3 separate regions of the Homo sapiens genome follow, and all the other regions are linked to region 3. Evidence: promoter capture Hi-C in 16 types of primary human blood cells and fetal thymus (Javierre and others, 2016). All regions are on one chromosome and are shown on one strand. The core of a region is centred on a gene start or on the middle of the fragment in contact, and the rest is flanking DNA. Distances in the headings are between cores, read along the strand shown.

Evidence for each region. The method cuts DNA at HindIII sites, captures the fragments that hold promoters and counts their contacts. A CHiCAGO score of 5 or more calls a contact.
Region 1: a contact is called between a fragment that was not itself captured here and the fragment with the promoter of HEXIM2 in region 3, in 5 of 17 cell types (neutrophils, fetal thymus, non-activated CD4 T cells and 2 more). The highest score is 9.9, in neutrophils.
Region 2: a fragment that was not itself captured here is called in contact with the fragment with the promoter of HEXIM2 in region 3 in 2 of 17 cell types (monocytes and neutrophils); the score reaches 5.8 in monocytes.

What each region holds. Positions count from the first base shown.
Region 1 is chr17:45,404,786-45,408,026 of GRCh38, forward strand. It overlaps ARHGAP27 (Rho GTPase activating protein 27), which reads right to left. Exons shown (of 20, transcript NM_001282290.2): 5 at 891-1,298; 6 at 139-321. Among named protein-coding and RNA genes, the nearest start is that of ARHGAP27, 26 kb to the right of the region's middle. The HindIII fragment of the contact is 9,114 bases long and covers 1-3,241 here.
Region 2 is chr17:45,366,630-45,369,832 of GRCh38, forward strand. No RefSeq gene overlaps it. Among named protein-coding and RNA genes, the nearest start is that of MAP3K14, 51 kb to the left of the region's middle. The HindIII fragment of the contact is 3,166 bases long and covers 9-3,174 here.
Region 3 is chr17:45,160,262-45,163,613 of GRCh38, forward strand. HEXIM2 (HEXIM P-TEFb complex subunit 2) reads left to right here and starts at 1,614. Exons shown (of 4, transcript NM_001303441.2): 1 at 1,614-1,770; 2 at 2,227-2,374; 3 at 2,489-2,598. The coding sequence starts at 2,533. HEXIM2-AS1 (HEXIM2 antisense RNA 1) reads right to left here and starts at 1,277. Exons shown (of 3, transcript NR_186789.1): 1 at 1,200-1,277. RefSeq lists enhancers at 249-864, 865-1,480, 1,134-1,363, 1,481-2,096, 1,514-1,713 and 1 more. The HindIII fragment of the contact is 38,888 bases long and covers 1-3,352 here.

The DNA.
Region 1 (3,241 bases), core at 229-2,728, 240 kb after region 3:
CAGGTGCAGGTGACTGTGTTTGGCTGGTTTAGGCTCTGTGTGGGAGCTGCGGTTTAGAGCACTGAGGCGACCTATTAGTGAGGAAGGTTGTGGGGAGGACTCTGAGGCTGTCCGGGTCCATCTGCCCCCTGCCCCTACCTGCTCCTGAGTGAAGTGGTTGGTGTAGAGCATCTGCTTGTCCTGGCTGACATGACAAGACCAGCCGGGGGGTGTGGTCAAGGGAGAGGTAGGGCCGGGCTCACCGAAAGAGCCCACGGGAGAATAGTCCTCCTCGGGGTAACTGGTCAGCGACTCGGGGTAGTCCGTCTCGGGAGTGGGGGGCTGCGGGGAACAGAAGGTGGAGTCAGAGGCTCTGAGTGCCAGTACTGCCTGCTGGCCCTGCCGTTTTGGACCAGGCCCACCCCCTTGCCTTCTGGTCCCTGAGGCTGTGGGAGCAGGAGGCGGGGTCAGAAGCGCTCAGAGGTAGCTCCGCACCTCACCCTCTGGTCCCTGGGGCTGTGGGAGCAGAAGGCGTCAGAGGTAGCCCCGCCCACTCCAGCCCTGCCCCTCACCTTCTGGTCCCTGGGTCTGCAGAAACAGGAGGCGGGGTCAGAAGCGCTTAGAGGTAGCCCCACCCATCCTGCCCCACCCCTCACCCTCTGGTCCTTAGGTCTGTGGGAGCAGGAGGTGGGGTCAAAGGCGCTCAGAGGTAGCCCCGCCCACTCCAGCCCCGCCCTTCACCCTGGGGTCCCTGGGTCTGTGGGAGCAGGAGAAGGGGTCAAAGGCTCTCAGAGGTAGCCCCGCCCACCCATCACCACCCCCTCACCCGTGTGTCCCTGGGCCTCTGGGAGCAGGAGGCGGGATCAGAGGCGCTCAGAGGTAGAACCGCCCACTCTGGCCCTGCCCCTCACCCGCGGGTCCCCTGGGCTGCCAGGGCTCAGGCCCGGCTGCATCTCCAACTCCTCCTCGGGCTCGTTCTCGGCCTCGTCCTCCCAGGCCGTCTCGCCCGTCAGCGGGTTGTAGAAGAACACCCTGCGGCTCTCCTCATCCCAGTACTGGCCCCACTCGGTCTCAAGGCTCACGTGGCTGTCCACCGAGGCAGGGGAGGTGGCTGGGCTGGCGGCACCCTCGGCAGCCTCAAAGGGCGACTCCCAGGTGGTAACTCCCGTGTCTGGGTTGTAGTAGTAGGGGCGCCCGGTGCCCGCGTCCGTGTGCGTCTCCCACACCGGGCTGGGAAGGGGGGCTGCAGCGGCGCCCGGTGAAGTGGCCCGGGGCTGCCTCTCTATGTTCGCGTACACGGGCTCCGGTGGGTCGTCCACCTGCGGGAGGAGAAAGGAGGAATTTTGTGTTTTCAGAAACCTTCCAAAATGGTAACAGAGGTCCCCTCTGGGCAGTGCGATTATAGGGGTTTATTTGTTTTCGCTTTATTTTCTTTAAACTTTTCTGCAGCCTCAAAATTTTGTACAACAAAGCATTTTAAAAATCACGTAAGTTCTTCTGCTCACTGTGACACCATCACTAAGCCGTAAACTCCTTGAAAGGGGAAGTGCCTGTTAGAAGTGGCCTCTTCTTGAGCTTTAGCCCCTTGGGCGACCTTCAGGAAGTCACACTACCTCTCTGCCTCAGTTTCCTGGGTGTAAAATGTCTGCTCTGTCCATTCCGGAAACTGTAGTGAAGAGTGAATGAGGAAATGCTCTTGAAAGTACTTTGTAAAGTATTTAGTGCCCCAGACGGGTGGGTCAATTACATTAATTATATTTATCAATAATAATAAAACATCGATAACCCAGTTCTCACAACTGTGCACTCACAGAGGCAAGTCAGAGGTTGGGCAGGAACTGAGAAGTGGTCTGGGGCGTGCCCCTGTTTATGGTGCCCATTCAGGGCCCTGCTGCATTCTTTTTTTTGAGATGGGGTCTAGCTCTGTCACCCAGGCTGGAGTGCAGTGGCGCAATCTTGGCTCACTGCAACCACCACCTCCTGGATTCAAGCTGCATTCTTACAGCTCCACTGAGAGCTCCCACCCCACCCCACTCTCAGCCCAGAAAGCTCTGGGATTGGAATCAGCACCCTGTCTGGATTTGGGGACTGAACTTTCCAAGGTGAAGTTTGCAGGTGTCAGAACCAATTCCAGACAAGAGAGGGAGACAGGACAGCCAGATGGGCTGGAGAATGGAGGGGCAAAGAGAGGTGAATTGTTTTACTCCACCCCAAAGGAGAGTGAGGGCAGCTGGGGGTTCAATCACATAGAACATAAACCTAGCCATGCGTAAGCCTCCCGGAACAGAGGCTCTCCTGATTCACACCTCAGAGCTCCCTGCTGGCTGCAGGGCAAAGTCTAAGCCCTTAACCAGGCACAAGAGACCGTCCCTCACCGGCCTGTGCTTCCACTATTATTTCCTGCCACTCCTTGCCCCTTGCCTTGAACTTTAAGCTCCAGTAGCACCAGTTGCTAGAGGTCCCCACCGTCCCTGCTGTGTTTCCTCCAGGCCTAGGCTCATCTGCAGCCTGCCCAGGCCCATCTCCACCCCTTTTTTTGCCTGGCTGACTCCAATTCCTTCTTCAGGATTCAGCTGAGGTGCCAGGTTCCAGCCTTTTCCTGAGATTCCCCCCATCCCCGTGCCCCCACATTCAGCCCAGCACCCTTGGCCCCACAGAGGGACAGATGACTACATTCTCAAACCCCAGGCAGCAGCATGGCATACGGAGATTACTACTATTTTCTTTTCTTTTCTTTTTCTTTTTCTTTTTTTTCTTTTTTTTTTTTTGAGATGGAGTCTCGCTCTGTCGTCCAGACTGGAGTGGAATGGTGTGATCTCGGCTCACTGCAACCTCCGCCTCCTGGGTTCAAGCGATTCTCATGCCTCAGCCTCCCAAGTAGCTGGCATTGCAGGCACGCACCACCACGCCTGGCTAATTTTTGTATTTTAGTAGAGATGGGGTTTTGCCCTGTTGGCCAGGCTGGTCTTGAACTCCTGACCTCAGGTGATCCGCCCACCAGGGCCTCCCAAAGTGCTGGGATTACAGGTGTGAGCCACCGCACCTGGCCAATTACTACTATTTTCTAAGCATACACAATACTTCAGGGGAAAGCAGATTTCCACATTTCAATTTTGTGTTTTCGGAAACTTTCCAAAATGCTAACAGAGGTCCCTTCTGAGCACTGTGATTATAGGGGTTTGTTTTTGTTTTGTTTTCTTTGAACTTTCCTGCAGCCTCAAAATTTTGTACTACAAAACTTTTAAAAATTCACAGAAGTTCC
Region 2 (3,203 bases), core at 342-2,841, 210 kb after region 3:
AGTAGACAAGCTTGGTACCTGTGACAGTCCCTCTTCTCTGGGCTGAACCTGCCCTCTCCCCTCTGCCTGCTGAGCCCCAGGAGAGGCGGGGGCTGTGCTGGGGGTAGACAGCGTGCTCTCCCTGTGGGACCCTCAGGCTCTCCAGGGTCCATTCCTGCCCTGCCCTGAATAGTACTTTCTCTGCAGCTGCCCTGGCTCAGGGCAAGGGGGGGCACCCCCAATTCTCACCCCCTAAATTCCTCCCCGACCCTGGAGCCACACTGCTCTTATTATGTCACCAGGAGGTTTTTCCAAGACGTCTGCTAAGAATCAGGTGAAAATCAGCTGAAGGCTGAGTCTGCGCCAGTTCTCAGCCCCTGAAGGGTGGGTAGGGCCATGTCCCAGTCAAAGGTGTGGACTGTGGATTCCACCTCTGTTGCTAAGATGGGACAGAGAAGTCCCATAGCCTCCCGGAGCCTCAGTTTTCTCTTCTGCAATAGAGAACTAATAAGCTCCAGCTCGTAGGATTTGTTGGAGGATTAAACAGTATCCCAGAAGTCACTTACAGGCATGGGACATGTCTGCAGTACGTGGTGACAATGAGGATGATGAAGAAGAAGATAATGGAGATGAAGGAACCACCAGGAGGGGAGACATGGACCAGCAGGGTCTTTTACTTTGGATTGCTCTGAGGTGACACCAGGTGTGTGTGAGTCCACATTGACAGGCTGGGCAGATGGATGGGCGGGGGGTCAGGACGCAGCATGGGGGCTGAGGGCAGCACCATCCCGAACCACACTCCTGGGCTCTGAGCTCGCCTCACGCTGCTGGACTCAGGAGAACCTCAGCATGAACACTCATCATGTCCTCTAGCCTGGAGCTTCCCAAATTAAGGAAGGGGTGGCCTCTGGGTCATTCCAGAAAGCCCTGTGATTCAGACCGTGCCGATGTTACCCTGGGTGGACTCCCTCAGCCTCAGCCTCCCTCATCAGTTAGGGGATCCCAATCAGACTTTTTGGAGGTCAGAGGCTGCCAGGAAAGAGGGCTTTTAACAAGGTTTCTACAAACCTTGAGATTGCTAGAAAGGGCCTGATGGACGGGGTGGGGCAGGCGGGGAGAGGGGGGAGGGGGAGGAAGGCTCAGGTCAGGGGTCACCAGGCCTTAATGATCCCTCTCAGCAAACTAACTTGAGGATGTATTCCAATTGTATTTGCTTATTTATGTCAGGAACATAAACTATTGCATTAATATATTATGCCTATTATAAAAATACGTATAAAACGAAAATTTTAAGAGATATCAATAGGAAACAAGTTAAACAAATGACGTCCCATGCATACAATCAACTATGACTGACCTATTTTTTAAAATGATGTCTTATAACTCGATAATAAGAAGACAAACAACTAAATGTAAAGATGGACAAAACAACCCAGGCGTGGTGGCTCATGTCTGTAATCCCAGCACTTTGGGAGGCCGAGACAAGTGGATTGCTTGAGGCTAGGAGTTTGAGACCAGCCTGGGCAACATGGTGAAACCCCATCTCTACTAAAATTACAAAAACTAGCCAGGTGTGCTGGCAGGCGCCTGTAATCCCAGCTACTTAGGAGGCTGATGCAGGAGAATCGCTTGAACCCAGGTGGCAGAGGTTGTGGTGAGTCAAGGTTGTGCCACTACCCTCCAGCCTGGGCAACAGAGCAAGACTCCCCCACCGCCACCACAAAACTCCCGCTGCAAAAAAAAAAAAAAGATGAAAGACTCTAATAGACATTTTTTTCAAAGAAAATATATGGGCTGGCATGGCTCAGGATATTGTGACACATGCCTGTAATCCCAGCACTTCAGGAGCCGAGGCAGGAGGATTGCTTGAGGCCAGGAGTTTGAGACCAGCCTGGTCAACATAGCAAAACCCCATCTCTACAAAAAAAAAAAAAAATTAGCCGATATAGTGGTGTGTATCTATAGTCCCAGCTACTCAGGAGGCTGAGGCAGGAGGATCTTTTGGGCTCAGAAGCTCAAGGCTGCAGTGAGCTATGATTGTGCCACTGCACTCCAGCCTGGGTGACAGAGGAAAACCCTCTCTCTCCTAACAATAATAAAAAAGAATGGTTAATAAGCACACAAAAATGTTCAATTTCAATTTGTTATTTGAAAAATGCAAATTAAAACCACAATGAGATACCATTTCAAACCCACCAGGATGGCTATAATCAAAAAGACAGATAATAATAACAAGTGTGGTGGAGAATGTAGAGAAAGTGGAAGCCTCATACATTGCTGTTGGGAATGTAACATGATGCAGCCACTTTGGAAAACAGCTTGGCAGTTGCTTAAAAAGTTAAACAGAAACTACCCAAGAGAAGTAAAAATGTGGCCACACAAAGACCTGAATGCTCATAGCAGCATTGTACATTTTAAAAACCCTGTAAATCATCCAAATATGCAAAAGCTGGTAACTGGATAAACAAAATGTGAAATATCCATTCAGTGTAATACTACTCAGCAATAAAAAGGAACAAACTGGCCGAGCGCAGTGGCTCACATTCGTAATCTCAGCACTTCGGGAGGTCGAGGCAGGTGAATCACCTGAGGCCAGGAGTTTGAGACTAGCCTGGCCAACATGGTGAAACACCATCTCTACTAAAAATACAAAAATTAGCCGGGAGTGGTGGCGCACGCCTGTCGTCCCAACTACTCAGGAGGCTGAGGCACAAGAATCGATTGAACCTGGGAGGTGGAGGTTACAGTGAGCCGAGATCGCACCACTGCACTCCAGCCTTGGCGACAGAGTGAGACTCGGTATCAAAAAAACAAAAAACAAAAAGCAAAAAAGGAACAAACTTCTTAAATGAGCTACGACATAGATGAACTTCAAAAATATTATGCTCAGTAAAAGAAGCTAGACACAAAAGACCACATATTGTGTGCTTCCATTTATATGAAATTTCCAGAAAACACAAATCTGTAGAGAAAGCAAATCTGTCATTGCTGGAGCTGGGATGGCTGTGAGGATTCACTGCAGATGGATCCAACAGGACTTTGGGGGATGATGGCAATGTTATAAAACTGGCTTGTGGTGATAGCTGCCCAACTCTATACATTTAAAAAAAAACTGTTGAATAGTACATTTACAATGGATGTGTTTTATGTAAATTATATCATATCTCAATGAAGTTGTTAAAAAAAAAATGAGGAAGCTTGTTAGGTACTGGTTTAGAAAGGTC
Region 3 (3,352 bases), core at 364-2,863:
TATGAAGTAGATAAAAACTGGTTTCTTTTTTGGTAGCATTTAGGATCTACAAAAGTGATCCTTCAATTACTTGGAATTTCAAAAAATTGAGGTTACCTAGTAACAATGCACCAGTAGAACACAAAATACTCTGACTTTGTTTAGTCTGTGGGAAAAGAAAAATCTTTAAACTGGAAAGATTTTGTAGTCTTACAAAGATTACATTGGAATTGGAATTACTGTAGTTCGTTTTTCCCTCTAGGAGGGCAGCCATTTCTCTAAAAGTTGTGTAAAAGTTAAGACTAGGATTTCAAAATGCAAGCAGATGTTGATGAAGCATACGAAATGGGCAACTCCGTTTCTATTTCGGAGCCGCAGCGACTCCGACTTTGTGCCCCAACCCTGTAAAGGGCAAAACCTCATCCCTTCGGTGTAAACTTTCAAGAGAAGTGGGGCAGCACACTTTAGGCGTTTCACCAAGAGGCTGGCGACATGCTAGGTCAGGTTGTCCGGAGAATCGGGGCTGAATGGGAGAGATCTTGAGGGCAAGAGCCTCAGAGACCTTCAGGCACCGAGCTCGTGAAGGTTTCCAAGTGCCCCTCTCTAGCTGCTCCCAGGGGGAATTAGTGGTTGCTACAGTAGTTTAAGAGGGTCGTGGTTTTTCGCAACCCGGGCGGCGAGATGGCGCTTTGGTGTAAGCGAGGTAAGGTGGGTGCACTGGGATCTCCGCTCTCGGAGCCTCCAGCTGACTGCCACGCCGACTTGTGGCCAGACCTGCGACCTCCGCCCTCCCCCGCGGCGCCAGCCTCTGGAATCTGGCGTCGCCCCCACCTCTCCAGTCGAAGTGGGAGTCCCTCTGTGCGGGGCCTCGCCGCCATACCCAGGCCGAATGGGGGTGGGGAGGGAAGCTGGCAGAGCTCGGCCTCAGGATCCGCGCCCCTGTGGAAAGACCGCAGAGGGAAGCCGTTTCACCAGCCTCTCCCCTTCTGGGGTCTCGGGAAACACGCGGTAATTACCGAAGAACCCCGCACTCTGTGAGAGGCGAGGCTGCGGGGCTGCCGGGACGGTTTGAGGACCGGGCTCGGCCGAGGAGACTCCAACCTTCACCCTCCCTGGCCCCCGGTCCCACTTCCCGCCGTCTCCCGGCGCCGCCACTTCAGGTAGCCCACTCGGCCCGGCCTCTCCCCGCGCCCGGACCACCCCCCACGGGGTGCTCTCACTGCGCAGCGAGTCCCTCCGCTGCCTCCTCCCAGCCCAAAATGGCGGCGATGGCCGCCGAGCTTCTCGTCGCCTTCCTCAAAGGCCAAGGATCCCTCCGCGCCTGCTGCCCCGCCCACCTTAGCCGGATCTATTTTCTGCCCCGTAAAGATTAACGCCATCAATGAACTCTTTAATTGAGTTCGGAGAAGGCGGGTCCAGTTGTGCCTCCTCACAGCTAATCGTTGCCAAAAAAGCGAGAATATTGGCAGAAGGCTTGACCAATCAAAGAAGGCAGTGATGCGCGCGCGGTCTGCCCCCGCGCAAGGGTAGATGGGTTTTGGAGTCTCGGGTGTGGCTGTTGACGTTACAGGCCCTTGGATCGCTTTTCAGGCCAGAAGAACTACAATCCCCAGCAGGCACCGCGCGTCCAGGCTCTCTCTTCCCCCCCATCTTAGTGGCCTGAGCGGCTTGACCAGAGCTGCTGCAACTGCAGCAAGAGGTAGGGCTCAGGCGTTGGGAATTGCACCGACAGGCAGTCGCACAGAAAGGCACACAGATGTAGTGGTGTGCATAGCCCTTGACAGCGAATAGGTCAGTTCCACCTTTGCAAAACCTCTTTCCATGACTGTCTCCCTTCTTCCAAGAAATCCATCCTTATCCTAGTTGGGTTTCCCTCCCAGCTGCATGTAGTGCAAAGACCTCTTTCCCCTTTTCTCCTGTTTCCCTTTCTGAGAGGAAGGAGGGAGGCAGGCCAGGACCTTAGAGGAAAAGTCCTCAGCACTAGGCTGGCCCAGGTCCCAGCTGTGCTTCTGGCCTTTGGAGCCCAGCTTGGGGAGAAGGTTGGGGGTGCAGGGCTGCATCAAGATTGGGGCCACTGGAGACAGTGGGGAAGGACTCGTGAGCTTGCTCCATGTTCTCCCGTGGCAGCAGCAGCCCCGCTGCACTCCCAGCCTCCCCAGGCAGTCCTCCTTTGCCCCTTTGGTGGTTGGGGAAACAAAACTTACACCTGGCTTCCTGGCTGCCAACCTGGGCCTCGGTGACTTCCAGGAGGACAGTACAGGACATGAGTCCTGGTGAGGGACCCGAGGAGCAGGACAGAGAAGACGGCCCCTGAATCCCATTTGGCCCCTTGCTGGCTGGAGGTGTGAAAACCAGCGGTGGAGGCAGCCTTCGGGGCCTGCATTTGAGAATAAGGGTATGAAGGGCTGGGGTACAAAATGGCTGCCACTGCCTGGGCAAACAATTCTGGGCAGCCAGAGTATTCCTGACGTTCCTTCAGGATTTAGGTTTCTGTTGTTGTTCAAAGCAGGTGTCACTAGTTCCAGGCGTCTGCTGAAAGATTTGGAACAGAAGATGATGGCCACTCCGAACCAGACCGCCTGTAATGCAGAGTCACCAGTGGCCCTGGAGGAGGCCAAGGTAAGTCCCTGCCCTCCTGCCCACCCAAGCACCACGAGCACGGGTCCCACAGCTGAGATCCAAACTTCTTGTCCCAGATGTGTTGGTAGATTTGGAAAACCAGTATTTTGACGAATCAGTACTATGCACTAGGCAATAGGCCGGAATCCCAGTCTATGCTAGCTGATGAAATCTTAGTAACTGGCCGGGTGCGGTGGCTCACACCTGTAATCCCAGCACTTTGGGAGGCCTAGGTGGGTGGATCACCTGAGGTCAGGAGTTCGAGACCAGCCTGACCAACATGGCAAAACCCTGGCTGTACTGAAAATGCAAAATTAGCCTGGCATAGTGGTGGCGCATGCCTGTGATCCCAGCTACTTGGGAGGTTGAGGCAGGAGAATCGCTTGAACCCAGGGGTCGGAGGTTGCAGTGAGCCAAGATCTCGCAATTGCACTCCAGCCTGGGCGTCAGAGCGAGACTCCGTCTCAAAAAAAAAAAAAAAAAAAAAAAATCCTAGTAACCCTTTCAGGTAGGAATTATTTCCAATTCCCAGAAGCTAAGGTTCTGAGACCTGAAATACCTGTTCCAGAATCATGCTATCTACAAGCAACAGACCCAGGGTTTAAACTTAGGGCCTTCTGACAACAGAACATTGCCTTGACCTCAAGTCCAAAGAGGGCATGGAGGGACTGGGTTGAATGTTTACATTTTGTCCAGGCTAAGAACCAAGTCTGAAGCAGGAAGAAGAGTTTTTGGTTCATAATTTGGAATGGAC